2 separate regions of the Homo sapiens genome follow, and region 2 is linked to region 1. Evidence: promoter capture Hi-C in 16 types of primary human blood cells and fetal thymus (Javierre and others, 2016). All regions are on one chromosome and are shown on one strand. The core of a region is centred on a gene start or on the middle of the fragment in contact, and the rest is flanking DNA. Distances in the headings are between cores, read along the strand shown.

What was found. Contacts are between HindIII fragments. The CHiCAGO score rates a contact against its expected background, and 5 or more counts as called.
Region 2: a contact is called between a fragment that was not itself captured here and the fragment with the promoter of SUPT7L in region 1, in 1 of 17 cell types (endothelial precursors). The highest score is 5.5, in endothelial precursors.

What each region holds. Positions count from the first base shown.
Region 1 is chr2:27,661,986-27,667,631 of GRCh38, reverse strand. SUPT7L (SPT7 like, STAGA complex subunit gamma) reads left to right here and starts at 4,018. Exons shown (of 6, transcript NM_014860.3): 1 at 4,018-4,303; 2 at 5,351-5,453. The coding sequence starts at 5,440. It overlaps SLC4A1AP (solute carrier family 4 member 1 adaptor protein), which reads right to left and starts at 3,743. Exons shown (of 14, transcript NM_018158.3): 1 at 3,055-3,743; 2 at 2,337-2,532; 3 at 242-364. The coding sequence starts at 3,717. The HindIII fragment of the contact is 6,150 bases long and covers 2,993-5,646 here.
Region 2 is chr2:28,427,078-28,432,895 of GRCh38, reverse strand. No RefSeq gene overlaps it. Among named protein-coding and RNA genes, the nearest start is that of FOSL2-AS1, 35 kb to the right of the region's middle. The HindIII fragment of the contact is 1,724 bases long and covers 3,074-4,797 here.

The DNA.
Region 1 (5,646 bases), core at 2,769-5,268:
CCTTTTTTTAAGATAAGAAGAAAGACTAACAAGATTTTTATGATTTTTTTCCCCTCTGCCATACTAATGAGGAATAATTTTCAAAATAAACCTAAAGCAACTGACCACAAGAGTAAAAAGTGAACAAGAAGGACAGCAATAAAATTATAGCATATCTTAGTATAAAGCTCAACATGAAGCTCTAGAAAACCACACTGCTCTGGATATGTTTTAGTGGTAGGGTCAGAATCTGTTTACATACCTTCTCGGTCAAAAAAGCCTTGGAGAGCCTTTTTGGGATCCTTTATATAAAAGGCCTCCCTTTCCTGCTGAAACTCTAAGACAATAGGGTTCTCTTCAGCATCATCCTCTACTGCATCTTCTCCTACAGGATATGGAAAAGAAAGAAAAGATAATCAGACATGAGAAGAGACTATTTGAATGATACCCACTATTCTCTCAGGCTGCATAAAGATATAGTTTAGGCTGGGCGCAGTGGCTCATGCCTGTAATCCCAGCACTTTGGGAGGCCAAGGCAGGTGGATCACAAGGTCAGGAGTTCAAGACCAGCTTGGCCAACATGGTGAAACCCCATCTCTACTAAAAATACAAAAAAAATTAGCTGGGCACAGTGGCGGGTGTCTGTAATCCCAGCTACTTGGGAGGCTGAGGCAGGAGAATTGCTTGAACCTGGGAGGAAGAAGTTGTAGTGAGCCAAGATCGCGCTACCTGCACTCCAACCCAAGCAACACAGTGAGACCGTCTCCCAAAAAAAAAAAAATATATATATATATATAGTTTATCTGTGATGAAAAATAATAAATACTTGCAGGGACAGGGGGTGGAACAACCACCACAAAACCACTAGTATGAGCATATTCAGGTTTTCTAAATTGTGTGACAAGTCAAAACTTGTTTTCATGGCACCTTAATTTTTTTTTCTCCATCATTATATTTTAAAAGTAAAATTACCTACCACATTGTGGAAAAAAAATTTGAGCTCCTCAGCCTGGCATTCTTGTTCTCTCACACTCATATCTAACTTTCGTTCCCAATATAATTTCCTAATACTTCTTATATCTGCCAAATAGACTGGTCTACTCACAACTTCCTTAAAATCATCAATTCCTACCCTGAATACCAATCCCAATACTCAGCTTCATAAGGCTTTTCCTTTCCTTCAAGTTCCAGCTCAAAATCCTTATGCTCATAAAGCTTCCCTGTGGAGTGCGATCGCTCACGCCTGTAATCTCTACACTTTGGGAGGCCGGGGGGCGGGGTGGGGGGGGGGGGTGGGGGGTGGATCACAAGGTCAGGAGTTCAAGACCAGCCTGGCCAATATGGTGAAACCCCATCTCTACTAAAATAAAAAAAATTAAGTTTCCCAAAGATCTAAGTCAGTGCTGTCCAACAGAAATATAATGACAGCTGTATGCGTCATCTTAAATTTTCTATTAGCCACATTAAAAAATTAAAAGGAAACAGGTAAAATTATTGTCATTTCAACATGTCATCAATATAAAAATATCATGAAAGAGATATTTTACATTCTTTTTTTCAGACTAAGTCTTTGAAATTCAGTGTGTATTTTGCATTTACAGCACACATCAATTGCAACTAGCCACACTGCAAGTGCTCAGTAACCACATGTGGCTAGTGGCTACCATATCAGACAACACAGGTCTAAGTCCCCAGTGACTGTTCTCTCTTCTCCAAACTTTCACTCTAGCATACTTATGGTTTCTAGCTTTTGTTTGGCACTTAGCACAAGTAATTTCATAATTTTTCCTATCTTCCCAACTATATATTAATGCCATCTTCTACCTTTTTATACTCCCATCTCCTGAATATCCATTTTCTAAAATATCTGGTGTTAAAGAAAGTTTATTATTTTGGCTAAGGGACCAGCTTTATCTGATTAGATATTCCACATTTCAGGATATCTTCACAAAGTACAAAAAATTCAAGAGAATATCCTATATTGAATAACATCCCATTTATTTGATTGAATAGAGTTCCATCCCCTCCAATGATAATCACATAGCACAAGGTCAGTACTTAATAAATATAAAATTTTAGAATTGTAAAAATAATAATTTTATGCTTAGGACAAGTTTTGAACAAGAGAGTGCATTAAAAATAAATTTTTAAAAAATCCAAAGTGCCTATAAGTCAATTTCTTTACAACAGTAAAGTCAGTGAATCTCTCTGGGTTTTGGTTACCTCATGTGCAAATTGTGTTTGCCCTATCTATCTCAAGGAGCCATGAAAAGCTGTATGATTTAAAAAAACATTTAAGGGTACCACTTGTAATGAACTTAAAATATTAACCTCCGGCAGCAATTTTAATTTCTTACCCATTCCCCAGGTGCAACCCATCTCATCATCTTGGCTACCAGCATTTATCTTCCTTTCAGAGGTATCCATTTCCTCTTCTTCATCTGAGTCTTCTCCTAGCATCTTCTTCTCCAACAATATTTGCTGCTGCTTGCGCAATTCCTTCAACTGTGTTACTGTTAACTCGGATTCTGCCTCTCGGTCTTCCTCTGGTCCCTGATGAACCAAGGAAAAAAAGGTTATTTATTTATTTAGAGACAGGGTCTTGCTCTGTCGCCTAGGCTGGACTGGAGTGCAGTGGCTGTAATACACCTCACTGCAGCCTTGACCTCCTGGGCTCAGGTGATCCTCCCACCTCAGCCTCCTGAGCAGCTGGGACCATGATGCCTGGCTAATTTTTTTTTTTTTTTTTAAGAGACAGGGTCTTGCCATGTTGCCCAGCCTCCTCTCAAACTCCTGGGCTAAAGCGATCCTCCCGCCTGGGCCTCCCAAAGTGTTGGGATTACAGGCGCGAGCCACCGCGCCTGGCCAAACAAGTTATTTTAGAGTTCGGGATTGTGAACATGACTTTCAGAAATATAGCAATGTGTACAGCCGTCTGAAGATGATAGGCCAGACTTGATTCCTTCACTTTCGTAATCGCTGAGTGGGAGATTCTTCTTCCTCATCCAAAGCTTAAGAAGCACAAGAACGCAGTCCAATGAACCCGAAATTTCAATTCTAGGTTTTTCTACCTACCTGCAGGATAAAGAGCCGGGTGCTGCCTCCAAAGCGAACAACATGCCCAACGTGGACTCGACAGTAGGTGCGAGGTGGGATGCGAGTTTTGTTGAGAAAAGTGCCATGGGTGCTTCCCAGATCGTAGAGGTAGAAGCCCGGCCCGTTGCTGTCGCATTCTCCGTCAGGGCCGGACGCCCTGTGCTGCAGCACTGCGTGGTACCGAGACACCGAAGGGTGCTCCAGGCACACGTCGCAGCCAGACAGCCTCCCGAAAAGGCAGTAACTCGTCCCTTTCAAGCTACGGGTGCCAAGGATAGTGCCGCCCTTCAGGGTCTCTAAGCTGTAGGGGGCTGTGGCAGGGCCACCCCATGGAGGCTCTTGGTAGGGGGGAGCCCGGGCTGGACCGCCAGGGGAAGAAACCGCTGTCGGGGGGCGCGACTGCTCCTCCTGTAGACTCCTAAAATCACCGCAGTCCGGCTGAGGAGGAGGGATGTCGGGCTCCCCAGAATTGGAGTCCTGCAACGCAGTGGGCCCTTCCTTCTGTACCTCCTCAGGGTTTGAAGAACTGCTGGCCGGGGCCTTACTCCGCGCCGCTGGGGACACCGGCAGAGCTGGCTTCTTGAAGTCCCCACTGAGGTCTTGCGACGCCAGGGTCTCTGACTGAGAGAGAATGTCAGCCATCCTCAACCGGTGCAACTTCGAAATCCGCTCCTTCGAAACCCACCCTTCGGTCTTTACGTTCCTGTCCACGTCCCACTCTCCCAAGCTCCCAGTGGCGTCTGTAGGCGGCGATGGTGAAGTTGCTCCTTCACGACCTGGAGCGTTGCGAAGTGGTGCTAACATGAGAAGGTCATAATATGAGAAAAACAAAACGGTTATCGGGATGCTGTGCAGAACGGGGACATATTTAGAGGTTACAACGGGATCGTAATGACTTCCTGTTGCATAGCTTGATTGAGAAGAAGCGCTTCCGGCGGTCTTAGATCACTAATCAACAAACCAGCTTTCGGGGTCTGACGCGATCCTTGCCTCAGGCCTCTCGAGGTCCAGACAGCCGCCCAGCCCGCTCTGCGACGCAGCAGTGAATAGTGTGGTACCTCCTTGTCTCGGTTCAGGTCCAGACCTCCCCGTCTTCCGGCTGCCCTGAACGTCAGGCGACCTCAGGACCCTGTGATTGGCGCCTGCGCCGGCGGACCGTGACCGAGGAAACCCCTGGAGGGACTTGGGCATTCCTTGGGCTCCGTGCCTGTTCTTCGTGCTCCTTTCGGTAAAGTAAGGGAAGAGGGCGACTTTTTTGTTATTTCGTTCATTCATTTATTTTTTTTCTGAAATTATTAAGGCAGAATAGTTAAGTGGTTAAGAGAGCAGACTCTGGAGACTGTCGATTTTTGACCTCGCCATTTGTGACATTGGGCAAGACACTAGGCCTCAGCCCTCACTCTGAAAAATGGGGATAAGATTATTAGCCTCATAGGGTTGTTGGAAGAATTGAATCAAACAATAAAGGCCAGCCAGACCGGTGGCTCATGCCTGTAATCCCAACATTTTGGGAGGCTGAGGCGGGAGGATTGCTTGAGCCCAGGAGTTCCAGAGGAGGCTGGGCAACATGGCGAGACCCTGTCTCGCCAAAAAAAAAAAAAAAAAAGAAAAAATCCAGGTTTGATGGTGCGCGCCTGTAGTCCCAGCTACTCCAGAGGCTGAGGTGGGAGGATTGCTTGGTCCCAGGAGGTTGAGGCTGCAGTGAACCATGACTGCACCACTGCACTCCAGCCTGGGCTACAGAGTGAAACCCTGTCTCAAAAAAGAAACAAACAAAAAAGGTGAAGTCTGGCATATAGTAAACATTCAACAAATGCCAGATATTTCTGTGTGCCTGGCCCTGTAACAAGACCACAGCCATAAGAAATAGACGGGCAGAAAAAATCTATTGCGATAAGTACTAATTAAAATCCAAGGATAACTGCTGTGACATAGACTTGCAAAGCACTGTGAGAATAGAGAAAGGGAGATGCACTGGTGAAGTGACGGACGGTGGGGACTTATGCTGTACTTAAAAATGAATATGAGTCTGCCAGGGATGTGCAAGGTTGGCAGAGCATTTCTGGCAGAGTTCACAGCTGAAAGTGTCAATTGTGGAAATGTACAGCATTCTCAAGAAACTGAGTAGTATAATGTTGTTAGAACAAAGGTAGTCATTTCACCCAGGAAGCTCCTCCTTTGTGCTTCCAGTACCCCAGGTCCATATACCTCTAGAACAGTACTTACCATGTTTCATATTGAAATATTCTGCTTCTGTTTCTCTTCCTCACTTCAGGGCAAGGATCTCACATTATCAGTCTTTGACCGACACAGAATGCCTGGCATTTGATAAATGTTTGTTGAACTTGAAGAGACATATGGACAATGAATCTGCAAAGGTGAGTTGAAACCAGATTGTGAATTTTGTTGAATGGTAAGCCAAGGAATTCTGACTTTTTCCAATAGGCAATGGGAAGCCATTTGATTTAAGTTTTAAAAAGAGTAAGTCTAGCAGCAGTGTAGAGAATAGATGACATACAAAGAGAGATTGGAGGAAGGGATACCAGTTAGAAGGCAGCAGAAATCTCTCAC
Region 2 (5,818 bases), core at 2,686-5,185, 770 kb before region 1:
AGATCGATCTTGTTTATGTAAAAAAAATCAAATAAATTTCTACAGAGAAAATAAATACAGACAGAATGAAACTGACAAAACTATTAACCATGGCATTTTCTGGGGCTTCACACTGTGCATTTAAAAACATTTTTTATAACATGCGTCTTGTTCATTAATTATTTTTACGATTTTTAAAAATTTTTGGTAAGTAATCCAAAGAAAAAAAGAAGACACATGTACTCATCTTTGTGGGGCCCCGGCTAGAGTCATCAAATAAATCGCCAGTACCAAAAGCTCTCCGTAAGTATTCTAGGCAGTGTGGGCAGAGCACTGTGGCCACTGGGGCAGGAGCCGCCCACTGCCTGGGGCACCCTGGAAGGCTTTGGAGGAAGTGACACTTCTGCTGAGTTCTTCCGGAGAAGAAGGAGTTCTCCAGGTAGAGGGAAGGGAGAAAAGTATTGCAGATGACCACGGCTCAAAAGGAGTCTGCCCTTTATCTGGCAGTGTAGGTGATGTGGAGTAGAGGCTGGAGGTAGGAATCTGCCACTTGACCATGGCCAGCCACGTGGAGAGATAAAGGCAAAGGGAAGGGAAGCTCCTACCTGGAGCCGCAGGCTGCCAGGCCCCAAGCTGAGCGGTTTTGTAGGCATTTCCTCACTGGGTATAAATGAACCTTGGCTGTATGATTTATGGGAGGAGAGAGGGTCCGGAATGGATGAGAAGCATGAGAAAAGGAGGCAGGGGCTTGGGGCAGGGTCTACCGTTAGAGCAGCAGATGCAGGCTGGGAGGGGTAGGGCCAGAGCTGGAGGAACACCCTCCCCACGCTATCCCCAGACACTTCTGGGCTTCTTATGGCCCCATCCACCAGTTCTGCCCCAAGGCAGGTCTAAGTTCCAGAAAAGACTTAGGCAGCCTAATAGGACTTGGGGCCAAGGGAGCTTCCCAGGGACCCTGACCCTGGACCTGGTGCCTAAGGGTCGACAAGTGATCTCCAAGAGGTGCCCCAGGCAAGTGGCCACAGACCTGGCCCAGGTCATCCTGGCAGCAAGGTGCTCTGCATAAAATCCTTGAAGGGTATGGTATCCAAGCCAGGGCCAGGCGTGGGTTAGGTGGGGGTGCTGGGCCCGCTGGTGGGGAAAGCAGGCTGAGGGACTTCAACCAGTGGCCATCCACCTCATGAGCTTGTCCTGACTTGGAGAGACAGCACATGTCTTGAGGATGCAGCTGCAGATATAACAGATCTGTCTGTGGCAGAGAGAGATGGTGGGGTGAGCGGGATTGGATTAGGGGGTACCATCTGCAGGGTGCCAATGGCATGCTGGCTCCCATGATGGGCTCAGATCTCTGTTCTGTCAGTCTCAAGCTGTGTGCCCTTGGACCAGCTATTTAGCCCCTTCCTCGATTTTCCCATCTCTAAAGTGAGGGTAATGATAGTGTCTACTACATAGGCTGCTGTGTGTTAAGTGCATAGAACAGCTGGCGCATGGTGAGGCTGCTTCGGTGCTAGTGGCAATTCCTTGTGGCCCCTTCAGGGATCTCCCAGCTGCGCCTGGCAGGCAAGGGCCCCTTCAGGGTTTCCACACTACCCAGTGCCACTCTCAACCAGTCACCCTCTTACACCTGCTCCCAGGGCCCATGTGTGGCCTACTGCCCAGGGAGGAAAGGAGTGCTGGCTCTGGGGTGGTGGTTATGAGGCTGGGGGCTCTGAAATGCCAGAAGCACGGCCCCTGGTGTGAGAGGAGAGGACAGGAGGAGGTGGGGTTCCAGAGTAGCAGAGACACTAAACAGGGAGATCCTCCCAGGGCTGAGCCGAGCACACCTGCTGGTCACCAAATGCCCAGGGTTGGGCATCAGAGACAGCCTCATATGGGCCAGAGCTCCTTAGCTCTGTGTCACAATGCCGAGGTGTCTTTCATTATCTCAGGGGCCATTGTGAAAACATCTGTGTGCCAGGAAGCCCTGCTGAGAAGGTGGAAGTAGGCGTCACAAAGTCAGAAATACTGATGGGTTTGGTTCCACTCTGGAGAGGCAGGTTGTAGGGGATGGATCTGGATACTGATTCTGGCTGCAGGACCAGCATGCCAGGGCCTTCAGAATCCTCCAATGGCTCATGGAGATGGACAGGTATGCTGACCCACTCGGGAGCACAGCTACCTCCCACAGGAAGGACCCTCTCCCAGGAAGAGGGCAGGGGATCAGTGCAGAGCAGCTCAACAAAACCTCCACAGTTTGCCTGGCAAGTGGTGCATTAGTGGCTGAGCTGGAAGCAGTGGCAGCCTGTGGTGTTCTAATGCCATTGTCAAAAGGTGTAGAGAGGCAGCACTTAGGGCGTGAGGTGCAGACTATCAGTTCATCTGACCTGTTAAGGATTCTCAGAAAAGCCCCGACTTAGGAAGGGGTGGAAATCGTGACCCCGGAGGAAGCCCAGGCCTGCAGCTAGCTACTGTGTGGCCTTGGACAAATTGCTTCAACTCTCTGGGTTTACCCTTCCTCTTGTTATAATAAGGACAACGACTACATAATGATAGCATTAACCACCCTGCAGCACTTACTATATTTGAGTGACTTTAGCACATTATCTCATGTAATCCTTATGACAACCCTATGAAATAGATATTATTATCCTCATTTTGCAGATGAGAAAATGAAAGTTCAAGGAGGTTAAGTAACGTGTTCAAGGTCACTCAACAAATAAGGACTTTAAACCCTGGAATGGCCAGTTCCAAAGCACCTGCTAAAACTCCCAGCTGGGATCCCTCTGGGCCAGTTATGTGCTCCATCCTCAGCATGAAAAATTGAGAGAGGTTGCCTAGGTTCCTTTGCACTCCACCTCACCGCTGCTTGAGGGCTTGGGCTCTCAGCTTTGTGCACAGGGGATAGGCAGAGATGGCCCTAGTCCACCATCAGGCCCTGCATGACATGGAGCAGTAGGAGCCCTGTGGCCTCCACAACCCACACTGTTGCTTGCTCTTGCAGGCTCCAGAGGTCTTTTGACTTGTCTAAGAAGGGCTACTGATTGTCATCTATTTCTCACATCTCAGCAATAGCATGCTGGCTTGAGTTTAAACTGAGCCCTCCTTTGCAAAAGCTTAGTCCATACATTCTTCACACAGCAACTTCCTAATCATCCATTTAATAAAACAATAACTCCTATGAAAACCTCTACAAAGGGCCTTTTTGTCCAAGGCTCATTTAATGCTCACAGCCAACCAGCAGGGGATATTACTATTTTCATCATTTTGGTGGTCAACCGAGGCAGAAAGGTGACCAACAGCAGGCACTGCAGAGTCCTCTGTGGCTCCTCGATGACCAGATGGGTAGCCTTGGACAAGTCACCCATTTGTCGGAGCCTGTTTTTTTCTCATGTATAACCTGGAGGTAATTGTGGGGACTAAAAACAGAGTGGGTGTGCAATGCTTTGCACTGCTGCAGAGTAAGCACTCAAAACCAACAGCTTTTATTTTCTCTTTTTCAGGTCCGATTTTTTTTTTTTTTTTTTTTTTTTTGAGACAGGGTCGTACTCTGTTGCCCAGGCTGGGTGCAGTGGTGCCAAATCCCAGTTCACAGCAGCCTTGATCTCTCAGGCTCAAGTGATCCTCCTGCCTCAGCCTCCCGAGTAGCTAGTATTACAAGTGGCACATCAGCATACCTGGCTAACTTTTTAAATTTTTTTATAAAGATGGGGTCCCACCATATTGCCCAGGCTGGTCTCAAACCAACTTTTAAAAATAGCCTTTATTTTTTAGAGTGGTTTTAGGTTCACAGCAAAATTAAGCAGAAAGTACAGAGTGATCCCAGATACTCCCTGCCCACACACGTGCATAGGGTCCTCCACTGTCAACAGCTCCAACCAGAGTGGTGCATTTCTTTCCATCAATGAACCTGCACTGACTTATCATTATCACCTGGATTCCACAGTTTACACTAGGATTCCCTCACTTACAGACATGCAGTTAAGTTTTTTCCATGTCTTTTTGTGGTTTCATGGCTCATATTTTTTTTTTTTTGTAGCACTGAATACTGAATAGTATTCCATTGTCTGGATATACCCCAGTTTATTTATTCAGCATCTACTGAGGGTCATCCTTGTAGCGTCTAAGTTTTAGCAATTGTGAATAAAGCTGCTATAAAATTGGTGTGCAGGTTTCTGTGTGGATGTACATTTTCAGTTCCTTTGGGTAAATACCAAGGAGCATAATTGCTGAGTCGCCTGGTAACAATATGTTTAATTTTGTGAAAAACCACCAAACTGTCTTCCAAAGTATTTGTTCTGTTTTGCATTCCCACTGGCAATGAATGAAACTTTATTTTATTTTATTTTTTGAGACAGGATTTTGCTTTGTCATCCAGACTGGGGTGCAGTGGCCCAAACATGGCTCACTGCGGCCTCAATCTCCTGGGCCCAAGTGATCCTCCTGCCTCTGTCCCCCAAGTAGCTGGGACTACAGGCACACACCACCATGCTCTGCTATTTTTTGTATTTTTTGTAGAGATGGGTTTTTGCCATGTTGCCCAGGCTGCTCTCAAACTCCTGAGCTCAACGATCTGGCAGCCTTGGCCTCCCAAAATGCTGGGATTACAGGTGTGAGCCACTGCACCCGGCCGAGACTTTTATTTTAAATCACAGATGAAAGTGACTTGCTTAAGATTACACAACTATTAGTTGGTAGAGCAGCACTTCTGGTTCCATACTCTGGGTAGTTTCTGTTTGACCACACTGTCCCCTCAGCTAGACAAGCCAATCCCATGCCCTTACAAACACTCCCACATTTCCTGACCCTTGCTTTTGAGGCCTCATTCTTGGTGCAGAAGCTTCCTGAGGCATCCTTCTTCTGCTCCATGAAGGAAAGACTGTCATCCATCCAGGTCCTGTGTCTGAGAAGCTTGCGATGCTCTTGCAGTGCCCTGGCATGCGCAGGGGCCAATGTCCAGTTGTCCAAGCTTACCTGTGCCAAGAGAGGACCCGGGTGGCTCTGCAAGGCCCTCTTTCTAGTCAGAAGAGACCCGGCCAGCCCCAGAATCTGAGGAGTCACTGGAACGTCATCAGGGACTAGGAGAGGAAAAGGCCCCCATGGCGCTCCCCTCTCTCCAGATCCAAGCTCTTTCTTTGTCTCTTTTTGATGCGAAATTCACATAACATAAAAATTAACCATTTTAGGCCAGGCATGGTGGCTCATGCCTGTAATCCCAGCACTTTGGGAGACCAAGGTGGGTGAATGACATGAGGCCAGGAGTTCGAGACCAGCCTGGCCAACATGGAGAAAGCCCATCTCCACAAAATAAATAAAAAACAACGAAATTGACCATTTTAAAGTGAACAATTCAGTGGCATTTAGCACATTCACGACGCTGTGCAGCTACCACTTTTATCTAGTTCCAACACTCTCATCACTCCAAAGAGAAACCCCATCCCTGTTAAGCAGCCAGTGTCGCTTTTCGCCCTCTTCCTAGCCCCGGACAGCCACCAATCTGTGTTCTGTCTCTTTGGGTTTACCCAGTCTGGTAATGGAATAAATGGAATCATACAACATGTGGCCTTTTGTGTCTGGGTCCAAGTTATTTTCCATTACTCCCTGAGGAAGGAGGAGGAGAAGGGACCTCTTCTGCCTTTGTCTCCCTCCCCGTCCCTTGTCCACCTTGCCCTGTGCGCCCACCAGCAGCACCTGTGGCTCAGCTCCTCCATTCTATGCTATTTCCTATTTCTCTTTTTTATTTTTTGAAAAAGGGACTCACTCTGTTGCCCAGGCTGGAGTGCAGTGACGTGACCGTAGCTCACTGCAGCCTCAACCTCCCAGGCTCAAGTGACACTCCCACCTCAGCCTCCTGAGTAGCTGG